Regions from separate parts of the Homo sapiens genome. Here region 1 is linked to region 2. Evidence: promoter capture Hi-C in 16 types of primary human blood cells and fetal thymus (Javierre and others, 2016). All regions are on one chromosome and are shown on one strand. The core of a region is centred on a gene start or on the middle of the fragment in contact, and the rest is flanking DNA. Distances in the headings are between cores, read along the strand shown. Region 1 has its middle 35 kb from the start of EPHB6. Region 2 holds the start of FAM131B (family with sequence similarity 131 member B).

The links. The method cuts DNA at HindIII sites, captures the fragments that hold promoters and counts their contacts. A CHiCAGO score of 5 or more calls a contact.
Region 1: a fragment that was not itself captured here is called in contact with the fragment with the promoter of FAM131B in region 2 in 3 of 17 cell types (total CD8 T cells, total CD4 T cells and naive CD8 T cells); the score reaches 6.9 in total CD8 T cells.

Annotation. Positions count from the first base shown.
Region 1 is chr7:142,817,594-142,822,829 of GRCh38, forward strand. No RefSeq gene overlaps it. Among named protein-coding and RNA genes, the nearest start is that of EPHB6, 35 kb to the right of the region's middle. The HindIII fragment of the contact is 2,073 bases long and covers 1,807-3,879 here.
Region 2 is chr7:143,360,713-143,365,835 of GRCh38, forward strand. It overlaps FAM131B (family with sequence similarity 131 member B), which reads right to left and starts at 2,001. Exons shown (of 7, transcript NM_001031690.3): 1 at 1,864-2,001. The coding sequence starts at 1,891. FAM131B-AS1 (FAM131B antisense RNA 1) reads left to right here and starts at 994. Exons shown (of 3, transcript NR_183342.1): 1 at 994-1,345; 2 at 2,478-2,545; 3 at 3,189-3,553. The HindIII fragment of the contact is 5,612 bases long and covers 1-4,281 here.

The DNA of each region.
Region 1 (5,236 bases), core at 1,593-4,092, 540 kb before region 2:
GCTACATAACTTTAAACTCTGCCTTTGGCATTACATGGCATTTTCCCTGTGTGTTTCTGTCTTCCCACGGCTGTCTTCTTACAAGTACATCAGTCATATTAGGAGTCCACAGTGCTCCAGTATGACCTCATCTTAACTAGTCACACTTGCAATGACCCTATTTTCAAACAGAGTCACATTCTGAGGTACTGAGGGTTGGGATGTCAACATATCTTTTTCTGGGGGGATGGTGGGTATAATTCAATCCATTATACCCTCCAATAATAAACACCTAGAAAACTGGGCAATATACGTGAGATAATTGTTTTCTAATATTGGACAAGAGATGGCACAAAACTGTGATCCATAAGTGAAAGGAGACAAATGAGGTGCGTGCTGTGATCATTTCCGTTTTCTACCCAGAATTTCCTGGGTTACTGTACAAACAAGAGGGACCCAAGCAGAGCATGGCACCCTGAAATTCTTACTGAGCTGAGGACACAGCTCAGAGAAGAGGAGGCCATGCACGGAAAGAGCCCCGCAATTTTCATGAGGTCTCATTGAGTCTTTGGGTAAATACTAAGCTGGCATCCATTGGGTGAAACTCCACAGGGGCAGGCAAAGAATAAGTACTGGAGAATTAACAACTGCTGGTGAACTACAGTATGAATAATTACTAGATCTTGGTCGAGGCTGAGAGAGATACAGCTCTGAGCCATCAGAATAGCTTTGTTGAATACCTGGAACATTGAACAGGTATCCCAGGAAGCCCATAACTTAGAGTAGGACTCAAATGGCATAGAATAAGTCTACCGTCCATTAACCCTAACAAAGCTTAAAAGAGCCCTTGAAAGGAAAAGCAGACAAGTTGACCTGCAAGCAAGTCAACTGCCCACTAGAATAAAGCTCAACACTCTTTGAGAGAAGAAAACAAAATTCAGATAATAAAAAAGTAACATTCATAATGTTGAGCATCCAGTCAGAAATTATGGGATATACTTAAAAGCTGGAAAATGTGTCTATGCTAAGTAGTAATATTAGGCAATTGAAATCAACCCAGAAATGGCAGAGATGGTAAATTAAAATAATGGGACTTATAAATGGCTAATATACTAAAATGGCTATTATTAAATATGTTCAAGGATTTATAGTGAAACACAACATAATGAAGAATGAAACAGAAACTATAAAAAAGCTAAATAGAACTTCTAGATCTGAAAAATATCTGAAATGAAAATTTTGCTAGATAAGCTTAAGTTGGAGTAGACACTATAGGAGAAATGTCTATGAACAGGAAATCAGGACAACAGAAACTGTCAAAACAAGAGAGAGGAAAATAAAGCTAAACAACTACAAAAACTGGAAGAGGTCTCAGGGAACTCCCAAACAATATCAAGCCACCTAGCACACATATCATTGGAGTCTTCAACATAGAGGAGAGAAAGTGGTGGCAGAAAACAATTATTTTTAAAATAGTGGCCAAAATGTTTCATACATGATAAATAATATCCACCTACAGATCCAGGAAGCTTAGCAAAACCCAAGCAGGATAAGCTCAAAAAAGTTTGTTTATGAAAGAGATTACTTTCAGGTATGAGGCTCAGTTTAACTTTCACATAAGAGACAGACTCTGAGATGGTCCTTGAGAAGTCATAGGGTTTTAGACTGATAAAAATGACATTAAAAGGCAAGAAAGGATGAATGGTACAGAAATGACCAAAGGTACAGAGGCTGAAAGTACAGGACATCGGTGAAGAACAGTAAGAAGATGAACCTAAAGGGAGAGGAAGAGAATACATGAAGATAGGTTACAGTAGAATTTCCTAAAGCTTAACACATCTGTGTCTGAGGGAATTCTATGATGGGGTAACAGAGGCTGAATTTACCCTCAAACCTGAAACAATTAAAATGCATGAAATATATGAAACTCTGGACAACAGATGGCTCAAGACCGTGATCCCTGAAAGAAGTGAAATGAATAAAGTGAACCCTGTGATGGCCTCAGTTTATAGCCTGGAGATCTTTTTCAGGCAGTATTATAGGGAGGAGAAGCCCAAACAGCGCCTGGCAGTCTCTCTGAGTTAAGGAGACTTGCATTCAGGGTTTGAGGAGGCCAAAATGGCTAAAATTCCAGGGAAGAGACCCAGGGAGGAGAAAGCGGTGGGTGGGAAGTGCTCTGGAATGTGCATTGGACTCCCAGTGACTCTTCAACTGCTCTGACCAGTGAGTACAAGAAAACAACCTGAGGCTAGGGAGAGACCACTCGATGGATCAAGCAGAACCATCTCAAAGTCCACACGGGGCCGGGAAAAGATGGTGCTTCCATCAACCAGAGTGGGAGACCTCCTAACACAGAGGGCATTGAGGAGAATTCTCAGAAGCGGATCACCCCAGTCGCGGGAAGCAAATTTGCTGTACACTAAAGGCTGTCCTAGATACAACTTACAAAGCTCCAAAACAAGACTCAGAAATATCAAATTGTTTCTATGTAATCTATCTGCATCACAAAATAAAGTCCCAAATTTATTTAAGGGATACAAATACTCCAGTAGCTAGAAACGTAAAATTCAAATATCTGATATCCAATTTTAAAAAGTCATATATGCAAAGAAAAAGAAAAATATGGGTCATAAGGAGGAGAAAAACACTCAATAGAAACAGATCCAGAAATGATATACATGATGGAGTTAGCAGACAAGGCTATTAAATATATATTCAATATGTTCGGCAGGATAGAAGAGAGTGTACATATGTTAAGAAGAGACGTGGAAGATTTAAAAAAGACTGAAATAAAACTTCTTCCGATGCAAAATACAATGAATGTGATTTTATAATATACTGGATGGGATTAACAGCAGATTAGGTATCTCAAGTCAAACTTAAAGATAAGGTAATAGAATTCACCTAGGATAAAAACAGAAAGAAACTGACTTAAAAAAAGTGAGCAGAGCATCAGTGAGCTGTAGAACAGCATTAAGCAGCCTAATATTGAGAGTCCTATAAAACTGGAGGACTAATGCAGAAAAAAGAAATTGAATAACTAATAGCTGAAGCAGTTTTAAATTTAATGAAAAGGAAAAGCCACAGATTGAAGAAGTTTCATGAACTCCAAGCACAAGTAACATGAAGAACACTTTAACAAGATATAGTATCATTGGATTGCTTAAAACTAATAAAGAAAAATCTTGAAAAGCAGCCAGAGAATAAAAGACACACTATGTACAAATGAACACAGTTAAGAATGACTGCAGTCATCTCACTAGAAACAATTCAGGCAAAAGAGTGTGGAGAAACATCTTTAAATTATTTAAAGTAAAAAAAATCCTCTTAACCTAGTACTCTATATCCAGTGAAAATATCTTTCAAAAACATTGGCACAATAAACTTCTCAGACATGAAAAAACTAAAATAATTCTTTGCCAGGAGACACACACACTATAAGAAATGTTAAAGGATGTCTTTCAGACAAAATGAAAAAAAGTCCAGATGGAATTGGTAAGCCAGCTCCCTGTGAGGGATAAAAAGGAAAAAAGGGAAAAGCCTGGATTTATAGCATTTTGACCAATTTTGTGAATATAAATATTCCCACCATGGCCAAATTCAAGCAAACAACAATTTCTAACAACTGGTTCACAGAATTTCTGGATATTTAACAACTGGGTCCTATGAGCTGATACAAACCAACTACAGACTATTACAGATAGAATATCATTAGTAAATATGTAATAAATATAAAAAACAGTATTTGTGCCATTTAAAAAATCTCTTTAAAAATAATTGACTTTCTATTTCCAGTGAAAACAAAGTAAGGGACAAAATACATAAAGCACCAGTTGTCAAGACATTAGACATCAGGCAAGGAAGGACAAGAAAAAATGAGGTGAGTTTTATAATAAAACAAGCTTACCACCTTGAGACAATTTCCAGGCCATGGCACAGAGAGGGGAAATCCAGGGGGAAACCATCAAACTCCTCGAGTCAAGGAGACACAGCTGAGAGGAGAATAAGTCAAGTAGAGTTCACAGGGCTGAGGATAGCAGAGGAGAGAAGCGGGCAAAGAGAGAATTTGTGAGGTCATCAGAGAGCCCACCCTCAGTATTCAGTAGGGTATTAACAAGAGCATGAGTGTGAAAAAACCACCTGAGATTGGGAAAATAACCACACAAAGGATTAAAGAAAACAGTAACTGAATTTCATGTAGGGCCGGGAATAGTGTATAGTTTCACCAGCCAAACTCAAAAACATTAAAATTCATGGGGCATTGGGACAAGAGCTCAGAAGTGTTTGGGCTCAGAAGTGGAGGATAATGATCTCTAAACTAAATGCTGCTCTGCTGTCATCTAACAAATGATTAAAGCCAGGTACAAAAGCATCAGATTATTTCAAGAAATGTAACTGTATTCTAAAACAGGGCTCAAAAATATTTATAGAAAAATAAAAAGTCCAACACAAAATTAAAACTCAATGTATGGAATAAAATAAAAAAATTACCAAGCATACAAAAATAGCAGAAAAATGCAACGTATAATGAAAGGAAAACTGGCACAGATGTTAGAATTAGTAAAAAAATAATAATAATTTAATTTAAAAATAAAATAGTTAAGCTAGAGATGTTAAGCAGACATAGAAGATATTTTTAAAAGCTGCAAAGCCAACTTCTGGAGATGAAAATGACAATATCTGAGATGAAAAATACACTGGATGAGATTAATGATAGATTAGACAATGTAGAAGAAAATACTAGTAACCTAGGAAGATATAGCAACAAAGGCAAACCAAAAATGGAGGATAGAGGAAATAAAATAATTTTTGAAAGGAAACAGACAATTAATTGTTACAGGACAACTTAAAGTGAACTAACATAACTGGGGTTTTAAAAGAAGAGAAGAAAGATGGGAAGAAAGAAAAAACTATTGGAAGAAATCATGACTGAAAGTTTCTAAAGTCAATAAAACTCGAACCTCACATATCCAAGAAGCCTGACAAAACTCAAGCATACATACACAAAATACACCAAAGAATATCATAATCAGATTTCTGAAAATTAGTGTTAAAGAGAAAATCTTAAAAGCAGCCACAGGATAAAAACATGTTTTGTACAGTAGAACAAGATAAAGATGACAGAAGATTTCTTGGTGAAAACAAAGCAAGTGAGAACACAGTAAAGCAACATCTTTAAAATACTGAAAGAAAAATACTGTCTTTTTGATAATGACCAGCCTAACAAATGTGAGGTAATATTTTATTGTGGTTTTGA
Region 2 (5,123 bases), core at 751-3,250:
CCTGACTGTGGGGAGAGAAGTGATGGATTAAAGTGGAGGGAAGCTGGTGAGCAGGAGGAGAAAAGAGAACTTTTTAAAATAGGAATTAAGAAAATAGGAATTCAAGTCAGAGAGAAGACAGAAGATGGTGGGAGGGGTGGACAGGGTCTGAGGGCTGAGTGGGAAACTGCAGGACTCAGGGGAAGGAGGGTCCTTGTTACAGCCGGGCCAGAGCTCCTGGTGGAGGGAGACTCCTGGACTGAGGGCAGGATGGTGCCGCGGAGAGTCTTGCGGAAGAACTGCTTGGGTCTTCATAAAGGGACTATTCAAGCAGCAGATGGCTGCCTGAACCATCTGACCGTACAGGCCCTTTATACTCATGAGGTTTTACAATTGTGAGTTTAGGGGTCGGCTCCATTTTTGGGAAGGGGAGCATTGAATGGGGCTGGGCACGAGGAGGCATTCAGCACATCAGCAGGGCTGGGGGAAAGGAAGGGGCTTGTGGTGAACCGGACTGAGGAGGGAGGACCCTCCAAAGTTGGCCTGCTGTCCCCTGGGGCTCCGCGGGGTGGTGACTGGGGGAAAAGAGGAAAGATGGCCCTCCGGACACAGCAGGAATGGGGCAGGTGGAGAAGAGCCTGAGGAGAAGGGAGACAGGGGAGGGCGGGGTGCGGGGGGAGAGGGGAGCGGGAGGTGGCCTTTGTGAGAGACGGAGAGCTGAGTCAGAGCTGTGGGGGGCAGCGGGGAGGGAGAGAGCCGCGGAGAAGGGGTGAAAGCAGAGGAGGAGGGGGTATCCATGGAAATAAACCGGGTCTCAGGGAAATCAGGCTTCTGGAGAGTGAGTTTGTTTGTAATAATAATACGAATTATTCTCTCAGCCTGAGGTCACCGGGAGGTGTAGGCGGGAGAAATTGGGAGTTGGAAAGGGGAAGAATGGGGGAGGGGGTGGGAGAGGGCCGGATGAATTCGCTGAGCGGCGAGAGTGGAGTGGGTGCCTGGGTGGGGGTCAGGGGCGGTAGCCAGGCAGAAGCTGGAGGGAGAAGATGGATTAGGAGGCGCCTCTCTTCCCTCCCCGCGTCAAAGGTAAATAAAGAGCCGGCCCCGCCCCGCCGGCCCCCGCTGACAGGTGCAGGCGGGTCCCCGGCCGCCGAGGCAGGGCCGGCCCCACCCTCCCGGGCCGCGGGCTCCCGACCCCTCCCAGCGCCTCGAAGCCCCCATCTCCTCCCCGCGTCCCCCAGCCCCTTCCCTCCACCCGGCCCTGGCCCTGTCCCTCCGGGCGTGGAACCCGGGCTCATCCCGCCCCCGCCCCAGAGGGAAAACGCACGTGAACAAAGCGAATCGGAGGAGGCAGGAACGACAGTAAAAGGCAACGGAGAGGGAGAGAGAGATGGGGCAAAGCACCCGAGCCAGATGGAGGCGGCGGCGGGGGGTGGCGTGGGGGGCGTGCGAAAGAAACTCGGGGCTGGCGCGGAGGCCGAGGGTCCTTCGCGGGGGGCTGCTCCGGAGTGGGGGATGCGAGGAGGCGCTGGGGACGGCGGAGCAGAGGCGGATGGCCTGGAGGGGCAGGGATGAGGGGACCGAGCGTCGGGCCGAGAGGCAGAGGAGAGGAGGGCGATGGAGAGGATGGAGAGGACCGCGCCTGCGGGAGGGCGACGGGGAGAAGGAAGCGAGCCGAGCGGGATGGCAGCCCCGGAGGCGCAAGACGAGAGCGGGCAGGAAGGAGGGACAGAGGGACCGCGGGCGGACGGAAGGAAAGTGAAGGAGCTAGCAGGGCAAGGCGGGTGCGGAGCGGGGCGCCCGGAGGCGCGAGGAGAGGGATGGGGGAGGGGGTCGGAGGGCGGCCCGGGGGGCCCAGCCCTGCCCCCGCCCGGCCGCGGTACCCACCCACAGTCCGGGAGCCGATGCAGCCCATGGCTCCGGGGGCCGCAGAGCCGGGCCCTCACCGACTCGGGGCGCGCGCCGGGGGGAGCACCGGGAGCCGCGCCGCCGCCCCAGCCGCTCTGCAGCGCCGCGGCTGTCTCCGCTCGGCTCCGCTCCCCCCTCCCCTCTCCATCCCTCCCCACGGCAGCTCCGTCGCCGCCGCCGCCGCCGCCGCCGCCGCCGCCTGGCTCCCCCGCCCCGGCTCGGCTCGCCGCGGCCGGGGAGGGGGCGGCCCGGGGATTGGCTGCGCCCCGCGCCTCCCCGCCCCTGCTCCGGCCGTGCCGGGGCGCTCCCTCGGGGATCTGGGGCCGCCGTCGCCGCCCCCCTCCTCCCGCCCGTGCCAAGCCCCGCTCCCGGGGCTCTCTCCTGGAGAACCCCGGCTTGGGTTTCAGGAGCCGAGGCACGAACCCAGGGCCTACCCCGAGGTTCTGGTTGATGGATTTTGCGGGCCGGGGTCAGGGGATGCCCTGAGAGAAAGTGGGGTGGTGGTGAGAATAAAGCCAGGCCCAAGGGCCTTTGGCCACCAAATTCCGCAAACACTTGTTTTCCTCCTGGGGCCGCATCTGGGACACACACAGGAACGTGATTGGACACAGCTTTGGGCTCTGTTGTTTCGAGTGCGCTATTTTGTCCATCCAAACAGAAGGTGAAGTCTTTGCAAGTGAATCGTGTAGTCCACTTCTCTGTGCTCGCTGGACATTCAGGGGTGGGTGTGGGGATGTGCAGATAGTTGACCTCCAGGCCTGGTTGGGGATTGGAGAATATGAGGAGGACAGTTCATTCGCAGTAGACTAACAACAATGTCAGGACCCGAGGCTGGCTAGGAGACATCGTCTTGAATCCAGTTTAACTTTTCTGAGACGTGATCTTCTCGGACAAATGAAAGCAAGGCGGTCCCGAAGCAGCAAAGAGAGAGAAAGATTGGCCTCTGGCTAGTGGGACTGGGCCAGGTAGATACCTCAAGCCCCATGGGGAGGAGATGAAGGTCTAAGTTGCAAGGGTTAAATGAGCACTGTGGTTACAGCAGGTAAGAAGTGGAGTCCAGAAAAGATGCATGAGAAAGGGCAAGGAGACCCTTTTGTCTAAGGTGTACCCAGAAAGCCCAAAGTGTGAGAGAGTGGGCAGGTGGGCATTCACAGAAGCAAGTGCCCATCCAGGCTCTGACTGCACCTCGCCCACTTTTAGGTCTCTCCGAGGTTGCAGAGAGAGAAGGCAATGGGCCAGGGGTCCCTGGTGTGGGCTCCTAACAGGGAGGCTAAGTCTTATGGATGCAACTTTCTAACCTTTAGATTATGAATGGAGAGCTACATCCCATGGGGTGGCAGATGAAGATGTGCAAGAAGAAGACACTAACAACTGAATTGCAGATTGAGGAGATGAGATTATGGTGACAGAATCCATCTTCGGTGTATGTGCATGAAGAAATAAGCCAAATCTACATCTATAAAACCGCGGGAAGGAATGAGATAATAATCAGTTGCAGGTCTGCTTAGATTTTAATCGTTTAGTGTAGTTCGTGGCAGGGTCTGATACCCTATTTCAATAGTGGAGAGAATTAGAAAGCATTTTCTTTTTTCATATCTACTATTATTGGTTATATAAAAGAAGTATCAAATAGTTTCTGCTTTCATGGAATATACTGTCCAGTCGCAAAGGAAAGAAGATGGAGAGATGATTAAAAAAAAAAAAAAGAACAAACAGCTTCCATTATTCTAGCAATGCCCACACACCCCTATTGTTTGAGCAGAGAAAACGCTGACAGGGGACTGGCCAGGTAAGGAGGAACAGACCACGTGGCCATTATGCTCTTGCCTTCCCACCTGAAACTTCTGTCTCCTTATGGCTCTCCCTGAGTAATACATATATTTATATATGACTACGTATCTCTTACTGTGGTTCCAACTTGGATGCAAACCTCTCCCCTTGGTCTCCTTAACACAACTATATAAGGCTGCATTTATCCAAATGATTTAACATGAGGGATTCCAGGTCTTGGAGACTCAGTCCCATCTTGCATTCTGTCTTGAAGGTATTTCCAGTCCCTCCCCACTACCCACACAAAAAAAGTAAAATATTCTAGGCATATTCCTGGCCAGCTTCCTTCCTGCTCCCTATAGGTCTTCTTATACAAGGATTCTGCTACTTCTCACTAGTTAAGGCCATTGTCCCAGTCTCCTTGCCAAAGAGGTCCAGGGCACAAAAAAAGTTTAAGAACTTCTGGACTTTAAATACATACTTGGCGGGGGGGTTCTCTAATTCTGCAGGGGCTTAACCCCCAAATAAAATGATCAGGCAAGACACTTATCCCATTTTGAAGCTGGGGTCCCCAGGAATAATTGTAGGTACTTCGGTGGTACCTGCAGGATTGAAAGAAGGTACCAAAGCTTCACACTGATCCCCACAAATGGAGAGATGGCTCCAAAACACAACTTAATCAAGTGTTCCTTTTATTTTATTGGGATATATTAGATCAAAGTTAAAGGTCTATGAAAAGATTCAATTGAGAAAGGGAAGCTCAAAGTACAAGAGAGGGGAAGATTAATTAATATTGAATGTAAATTCCTAAAACCACCTGGAGGGATGGGAGCAGAGCTCAGGGAGGGGGATGAGACTGTACAGGAGGAGCCCAGCTCTTCTTCCAGCAGCAGGGAAGACGGGGCAGATGCCAGTGGGCTGCATGTTTGGTGTCAGGAGAATGAGGGATTCCCATCTGACGGCATCTACTTTCTCTGACAAGAAGGAGGCAAGATCATTTATTGAGAGTCAGAATGAGAGAGATAGAGAAAAAAATAAAACTCACTTTAAAGTGCAAATATCAATATACAATTGATTTAAAGAATAGAGTTTTCAGTCTATTCTTCCAAACCTCTAAGAAAGATATTCTTCTTGCATTGCAGTTGAGAGAACTGGGGCTGATAATTCAATTAACTTCCTTTTCCCTAAGATTTCCCAGTTGGAAAGAGAAAAAGCTAGCACTTTTTTGTTTGGCATTTTGTTTTGTTTTGTTTTTGAGACAGGGTCTCACGCTTACCCAGCCGGAGAGCAATGGCATGATCAAAGCTCACTGCAGCCTCGAGCTCCTGGGCTCAAGTGATCCTCCTGCCTCTGCCTCCCAAGCAGATGGAACTACAGACATGTGCCCCAACCCTCGGCTAATTTTTTGTATGTGCCTATTTTAGTAGAGGTGGGATTTCACCATGTTGTCCAGGCTGGTCTAGAACTCC